Linked DNA regions of Homo sapiens: region 2 is linked to region 1. The links are contacts of gene promoters, found by promoter capture Hi-C in blood cells and fetal thymus (Javierre and others, 2016). All regions are on one chromosome and are shown on one strand. Each heading gives the region's core, a stretch centred on a gene start or on the middle of the fragment in contact. The rest is flanking DNA. Distances are from core to core; before and after follow the strand shown.

Evidence for each region. The method cuts DNA at HindIII sites, captures the fragments that hold promoters and counts their contacts. A CHiCAGO score of 5 or more calls a contact.
Region 2: a contact is called between a fragment that was not itself captured here and the fragment with the promoter of TSC22D1 in region 1, in 1 of 17 cell types (non-activated CD4 T cells). The highest score is 5.6, in non-activated CD4 T cells.

What each region holds. Positions count from the first base shown.
Region 1 is chr13:44,574,472-44,578,166 of GRCh38, forward strand. TSC22D1 (TSC22 domain family member 1) reads right to left here and starts at 1,859. Exons shown (of 3, transcript NM_183422.4): 1 at 1-1,859. The coding sequence starts at 1,603. TSC22D1-AS1 (TSC22D1 antisense RNA 1) reads left to right here and starts at 1,425. Exons shown (of 3, transcript NR_038381.1): 1 at 1,425-1,799; 2 at 2,571-2,706; 3 at 3,631-3,695. RefSeq lists an enhancer at 1,332-1,571 and silencers at 1,892-2,601, 2,612-2,851, 3,122-3,321, 3,502-3,551. The HindIII fragment of the contact is 6,017 bases long and covers 1-3,695 here.
Region 2 is chr13:46,791,332-46,795,026 of GRCh38, forward strand. It overlaps ESD (esterase D), which reads right to left. Exons shown (of 10, transcript NM_001984.2): 2 at 2,066-2,113; 3 at 15-89. The coding sequence starts at 82. Among named protein-coding and RNA genes, the nearest start is that of ESD, 4.0 kb to the right of the region's middle. The HindIII fragment of the contact is 537 bases long and covers 1,795-2,331 here.

The DNA of each region.
Region 1 (3,695 bases), core at 609-3,108:
TACTAACTGCTGGAATACTCTGTGGACCAGTGCTACCAAAATCCATCTGTTGGAGGGTCACACCTTGGAGAGCTGGTTGTTGCTGTTGTTGTTGTTGTTGCTGCTGCTGCTGCTGCACCACCACAGTAGGGGCTCCCATCTCTCCACTTCCCACACTCTCTGTATAGTGACTCAGTGTGCTGACACTACTGCTCACTGAACTCCCACTAGTGCTCTCCCTTTCAGAAGTCACTTCTATCGGATTTTGCTTTACAGTCTCCACCACTTTATTTATCAGCACACCTTCTGTAGCAGGTACAGCATTTTCTTTTTCATAGAACTCAGTGCAAGTCCATCTACCTTTTTTAAAGGGCTCAGAACTAGAATCTAACTTCACAACTCTGAACCTCGAAGTGTTAACTGTTGGTTGTTGCTGCTGACTTGAAACCGATCCCCCAGTCATCCCTGCAGCTGCATTAGGAACACTGCTAACAGCAGCAGAGGAAGAAATAGTACCATTGCCCATGCCACTCAAGATATTCACATTAACACCACTGGTAACTCCAGGCCCAACACTCACACCAGCAGCACTAGGAATATTGCTTGTACTTATATTAACATTACCAAGCATGCTGCTTGTCACATTAGGATTAAAACTACCCACAGCAGTAATGTTAACATTATTTACTGTACTAGTGCCAGTAACAGAATTTATACCTATTCCACCTGTAGTACTTGGAGCACGCATATTAGTCATTACAGATGCAGGTGAACCACTGGATGATACAGCAGAAGTTGGTGCAACTGGTGTGATACTGTCAGAGCTTCCAGTTGTAGAGAGTTTTCTAGATACTGGGCTTGAGGGTGGCCCACCAGTAATGGATGCACTGGCCACAGCAACATGAGATGGATGGTGGTGACCATGTTGGAGGTGGTGCCCATGATGAATCTGATGGTGGTGATGGAGGTGGTGTGGATGAGCATTCCCATTGATCACAACATTCTGTTGTGGAAGGTGAGGCAAATGAGGCTGAGGAAGGTGGGGCTGGTTGGGAGAGACTGCCCCAGGTGTCTCGGCTTCCTGGAAGTTATTTAGGGTCTCTTCTGAGGAGCTGCGTTCGGGCTCCCCTAAGTCAGTAGCCCTGGAAAGTGACACATCAAGGATCTCCGAAGAAGAGAGATCTTCCGTGTGAGATTCATCCAGATCATCATAGCTCTCAGTGTCCTCTGCTATACTGTTGTTAGAGCTGATACTAGCGGAGATCTGAGCAGGAGTAACGCTAGTTATCTGGAAGCCACTTTTCTTTTTCATTTGAGTTCCGCCTGGCGCAAGAGGCTGTGCCTGCAGCTGAGCCTGCGAAAGGAGGTTCAGGCTTTGTGGAGGCGGAGGCTGTGGTCCCGACGTAGAAGATGCTGCAGGGGGCGGCGGCTGAAGCAGCGACGGAGGCGGAAAATCCTCGGAAGATGTGGCATTACTACCGACGCCGGTACCTGCTGCATTGAGAGCAGAGGCGCTGCCACTACCGCTGCCCCTTCGAGGGAACATTGCCGGGTGCGCCATCTTCCTAGCGCTAATGTCTGCAGCGGCGGCGGCCGCGGCGGTGGACTCAGGCGGCTGGTGCATTGTGTTGGGTACCGGGGGCGCGGAGGAGACGAGTGCAATTTCCTTCTGCACCGTAATCTTTGTATTGGAGACGCCGGAGAGGAAAACGGGACCTGACGCTCCGCCTGGCGCGATTCCTCCTTCTCCTCCTCCTCAGCCAAAGGCGCCGGTCGCTCCTGCCTTCGAGAGCGAGCTTCGGAAAGGAGGATGAACGAGGGTGAACAGGGCGGCCGGGGACCCGAAGGGGGGATCCCTTCAGTCCTTCGCCATTCACTTTCCCCTCTAGCCTCACACCCCCCTTTATATTCTGCTTCACGTGGGGTGCGGGGCAGGAGGGAGGGGGAGAGCGCAGGAAGGGGAGGAAAAGCGAGAAATGCCCACCTTCTCCGGCCAACTCCGAAGCCGCCTCAGCCCCCTCCTCCCGCCGCGTCGGCGGCCGCTGCAAAGCCCTCCCGGCCGCTCTGCACGGAGGCAGCGCCAAGCAAATGTCGCCTTCCCCTCGCCACCCCCGGGGCCGCCGCCGCCGCCAGCGAGCCCCGAGCTCAGTGTCGCTCAAACCTCCCCTCCCGGCCCCGCTCGGCCCTCCCCCCGCGCCCCGCAGACCCTTTCAAACCCCCTGGGCTCGCGGCGGCTGCTCGGTGAGGAAACGCTGGCCGCGGCTGGGGCCGGGGCGACGCGGCTGCGAGCGGGGCGGCGGCGAGGCGCCCGGTACGGTGAGCCCAGCAACGAGGCGCGGGCGGGCGCGCAGAGACGCCGGGTCCTCGCGGAGCACGGCCGGGGCGCGGCGGCGGCGGTGGCAGCGGGAGCCCAGGGACCGCTCCATCACTGGCAGCCATGGAGCCCGAGCATTTTCCTCCCTCAGGGCAGGCGCCTCGACTCGGCACACGTCCTCGGGGAGGAAGGGGCCGGCACCCGAGCCTCTCCGGAGGGCGGCGGGACGTGCGCTAGGGCGGAGGGTGCGACCCTCTCTTATCCTCTTCCTCCGCAGCCGGCTCTTCCTCACCCCGCTGCTCCCGCGACCGGGCGGGAGAGGGCCGCAGGCGGCGGCGGCTCCTTTCTCCGCGGCGTTGGTGGCCAGACGGGCTGGTGCAGCGACTGCAGCCGACGCCGTTCAAAGGAACGAGGTGGGGTTGGTCGGTGTCGGCAAACGGGGCGGGGGAGTGAGTGGGTGCCGAGGGAGGGTGTCGGGCGGGGAGGGGGCTGTGGTGGTTGTTACTAGTGCTCTTCTTCGGCTCCCCCGGCTCCACCGTATCCCCCAGTCTCTCGCGGCATCGGGAGGGGAGGGACCAGCGCGGAGCGCAGGAGGAGGAGGGGCGACCGCCGGCGAGAGGAGGCGGTGGTGGCTGGGGGGAGGGGGCAGGCGGAGGAGGAGGAGGGAAGATGGCGTCTGCGCATGCGCCTCGGCGCCGCAGACATAAAGCCGGGTCTGGCGGGGCAGGAGGCGGCGGGTCTTCGGGCCTAGGCGAGCGCCAGGTCTCCCGACGGAAATTACCGAAGGCTGGCAGAGGCGCCGAAGCCGGGAGTGGTGGAGCCGGAGGGGATAGTGGGGGTGGGGAATTCCGGCCGAAGGAGCGAATCCGGGTCGGACTGCGTGATTCGGCCCGGTGGGGGCGGGCAGGGTGCGCGCCTGCCGCGCGCCCAGGTTAGGTGTGTCCGCTCTTTTCACACTCGCGGCCGGCGCGCGCGGGCACGCGGCAGAGGAGGGGGCGCGGCGCGGAAGGGCCGGCGGAGGCGGCGGGAGCGCCGGCGCTTGGTGTGCGCGCCTTGGGTGGTGTCCCCCGCCTGCGGAATGGGTAATGAGGCTTTTCTCCGCAGCAACAGCATCACGAGTTTCAGTTCCCAGGAGCCCGCCGCCGCGGCTGCTGCCGCTGCCACGACATGAGTCAGGCTTTCTTCCCTGGCGCGTGGCGGAAACCTCCTCCCCCTCGCCGCACCTGGGCTCGCCCCCGGCCCTTGCCTCCTCGGGGGATGCCCTAGGGCCGGGAGCTGTGGGGTCTATGGAAGGCCGGTGGCTCCCGGTGATAGGTGTTGTCTTTTGTGCAGTGCAGTTGCTGCCATGCGGTCCCCTCGCCCTTCCACGGGCAGGGGCGAGGCGGCCGGGCAGATGTTGCAG
Region 2 (3,695 bases), core at 813-3,312, 2.2 Mb after region 1:
TTCTTAATAGTTACCTGTCATGTTCAAAAACTTTCTGCAATCCCCCAAAGCACTTGTTGCTGGAAATCTGCTTCAATGCCATTCTTTTCCTATTAGTAAAGAGTAATCTCATTAATTTCCAGAGAATTAGTTACTGAAAAACTTGAAACAAAACTAATTGCCTTCAGATAAATTATCTGAACATACAACTATTTTCTACTTAGAATTTTTTTTTCACATTTTTCTCCAGTAAATAATATTAAGAAACTGATTAACGCTCATACATGCATTTACACTTGTTACTCACTTTTAAAAGCTTTCATACTTTGGTATATCATTACTAATTTATTAACAAGTTTTTTCGTTGTGGTGGACTGCCCCAAATTATTTTTAAAAGAGGCAGAAAATACATAAGTTACCAATTAATTACCTTAGTTTAGAAGATTAAAAATTGTTAATAGTCTGCCTATCAACTGCAACAAAGTAGTCAAGGAATTGGTATGACTGATTATAGTTGATTTTAAAATGGAAGAAAGATGTGATAATGATTTTGGTAATAATAATATGTAACATTACTGAACACTTACGGTGTGATACACATTTTTCTAGACACTAAACCAGATCCAATTACTCATCCCATGAATTTTTAAGAGAAAGTGATATGAAACTTTAAGATCAACATTTATTTCTCCTTTTAAAACAAACCAATAAGTAAAACAAGCCTGTTAACTTCTTTTCTGTCCAACAAATCTTTTGTTTTCATGTAAAAATAATTTTAAACTTACATGTAAAATGACATATTTTATTGCTTTTAATGATAAATACAGGAAAAAAGTTGGAAAACTATCTTTATCATAAATGCCTATTAAGCAAAGGGAAACCACACTGATTCTGACATGTACCTCTCAAAGAAAGATTCCCTTTCTATTCCTAGAAACACTGTATTAGAATATAAGGCAGTAAGTCCTACATATTGAAGAAAAAGCTTTAGATATCAGGAACAGGTATTACCACCCTGGTGATCTTCTCAGAGAAATGCACTACTACATGCTAATCAGCTGGAGCTTTAGGATTACTCTTTCAAAGATGTATAACAATAATCTTAAAAAGCTAATTTTGGAAATGTCTTTATAAAATACTTTAAAAAATTAGTTTCAATCTTATCTCTAATTTCTTCAATAAACCCAAATAGTTTTATTTTGGAAGACTGGGATTTGAACCCAGAAGTCTGACATCAGAAGCCCTACTCTTAACTGCTATGCTGTCCTGACTCTCTAGAGGTTCTTTAAATACTCATTTTTTAAGACACTTTAAGATAACTGATTCTATAGAATTATGATATTACAACTGTACACAAAGAAATTACCATCTGCTCAGTTTTATGCTTTTAATCTATAAAAGATTAATTCTTAAACAATAAACTCCCATGAGATGTTATTAGTTACTGAATATTAACTTTAGCTACTGTTAACAATCCTATCTTAAATAATGAACTTATAGAGAGAGATACTAATTTTAATATATTAATACATATATATGAGACCAACAAATAAAATTTATTTGCTCCATTATTCCACAAGGAAACCAGATTTTCTTAAACTTAGAAAGGACTATATCCACTTTGCAAAAGATGGTACACTGAGCACGTATCTGGTACATAGGAGTCTGTATCTTTGCTATTCGTCTATTTTAATAAACCTCAAGTTGTCAGTTTTCTCTGCTCTTAAAATTCAAAATCAAATGCTTTTCATTTGGCCAGAAGAAACAAGATTAAAACACTTTTTAAAAGTTGGTAGAATATTTTTTAAAAAACAAAGCTTTTAAAGTATTTTTTCTACCCACCATTTTAGAAACTATCTTTAATTACAAATCAAAAAAATATGTTAGGCTTAACAAGAAATATGACATAAACTAAGAACTAGATATGACATACTGTGATATACTATGATATCTGATACATTATAATAGGTGGTTATATTTTTCAATAGAATTTTTCTATGTGAAAAATAGCACGTTTTAAAACAAGCTATTAGTGGTATTTTCATTCAATGTTCAGAGTAACATATAAACAATAAAACAAGTTTACCTGTCCAATTGCTGATTGCTTTTTGCTTGCACCAAATGGTAGGCGATTCTGAAAAAAACACCAATGGTTTACAAATGGGATATACTTTTCACAGCAAAGGTTATACAGAGCTTTTATATGCATATGCATTCTCAATAGAGATGTTTTCTTCTTTTGAGGTAAATGACTGTACACCCTGATGGGATACCACATCACCACTTAATTACCTTAATTGCCCATAATCTAATTATTTGCCACAGGCCACCTTAATACCTATTTTGCCATAAAGCTTGTTGGTACTTGGTCAAAACCATCTGCTGAAGTAAAAGTACTATGAAAGTTTTTTATCTTTTTAAATCAATAAACAAAGTTTTCAAGTGTAATTTCGAAGCATGAGATGTAGTCAACTCCTGAGTGAAGAAAATAAGAGTGGGGACTAGGTAAGTAGAGGAAGATGGATCTATCTGGCTCAGTTGTAAGTCGAACTTGTAACATGGGGAGAAAGAAGGGAAGAGATGAGGACTGAAGGACTACTACTAGGGTGACTAGAAAGGATGTATAAGAAAAGTGGGCTTATGAACGATGAAGTGACTGATATTCAGTAAGAAAAATATATATGGAAACTTACATAGTATATATCATGTCACTTATCTGGTAGATTTCATTTAGGCTCTAGAACAAATATATATTTAGGTTCTAGAACAGATTTTGTGGGAGAAATAGGGTGACAGAGTAGGGTGGAATACCAAAAAACCAAACAACACCCTTCCTCCTTCCCCTCCAAAAAACAACAACAACAACAACAACAACAAAAACAGAAAAACAATTTCACAGTGCCAGTGGGAGTTACACAATTTTTCCCAAATGTTAGTGAACATCAACATTCTTTGGAGAAGAAAGGGTCTCTCAGTGCATAATACATCCATTCCCCTAAAGGTCAAACCTTACTGTTCTTCCCTTTATTTTTTATTTTTTGGAGATGGGGTCTTGGCTGTGTGGCCCAGGTTGTAGTACAGTTGCATAATCATGACTCAGTGTAACCTAGAACTCCAAGCTTCAAGTGTTCTCCTACCTCAGCCTCCTGAGCAGCTAGGACTACAGGTGCGTACCACACTGGAATATTTTTTTTTTTAATTTTTTGTAGAGACAGGGCCCTTTACTTATTAAAGTTAAATGTCATCCACCTCCAGAAATCTGAGTTCTATTTTTATCCTTCTTCCCCTGTGTCTCAAGTTTTCCATAAATCTCTACATGTGTTTTTTTGTTCCCATTCTCTCAGATTCCTTGGATTTTGATGTTTCTTCATTTCCAGGATGTCCTATTCCACTGGCTCTTAACAACCTAGACAGGTGTTCCCAAAACCAACAATCTACAGTTCCAATAACTGCTGTTGACCACCACTGTGTTGTTCAAATCCTCTTCTCAGTGAAAACTCAGGATCTGGCTTCTTCCCTTTCACTCTGTCTCCTCCCACCTCCCTTTTCTTTTTTCTTCACACTCTTTCCCTAAACCTCATTCCCTAAATTTCAACTACATTTTCTGGGTGAAATAATCTAAATCTGCATCTCTATAACCAATCTTTCTCAAGCATTAGTACCCATAATGACATTTCTTGCTGGACTCTTCTACCAAGACATGTCACCAGCTATTA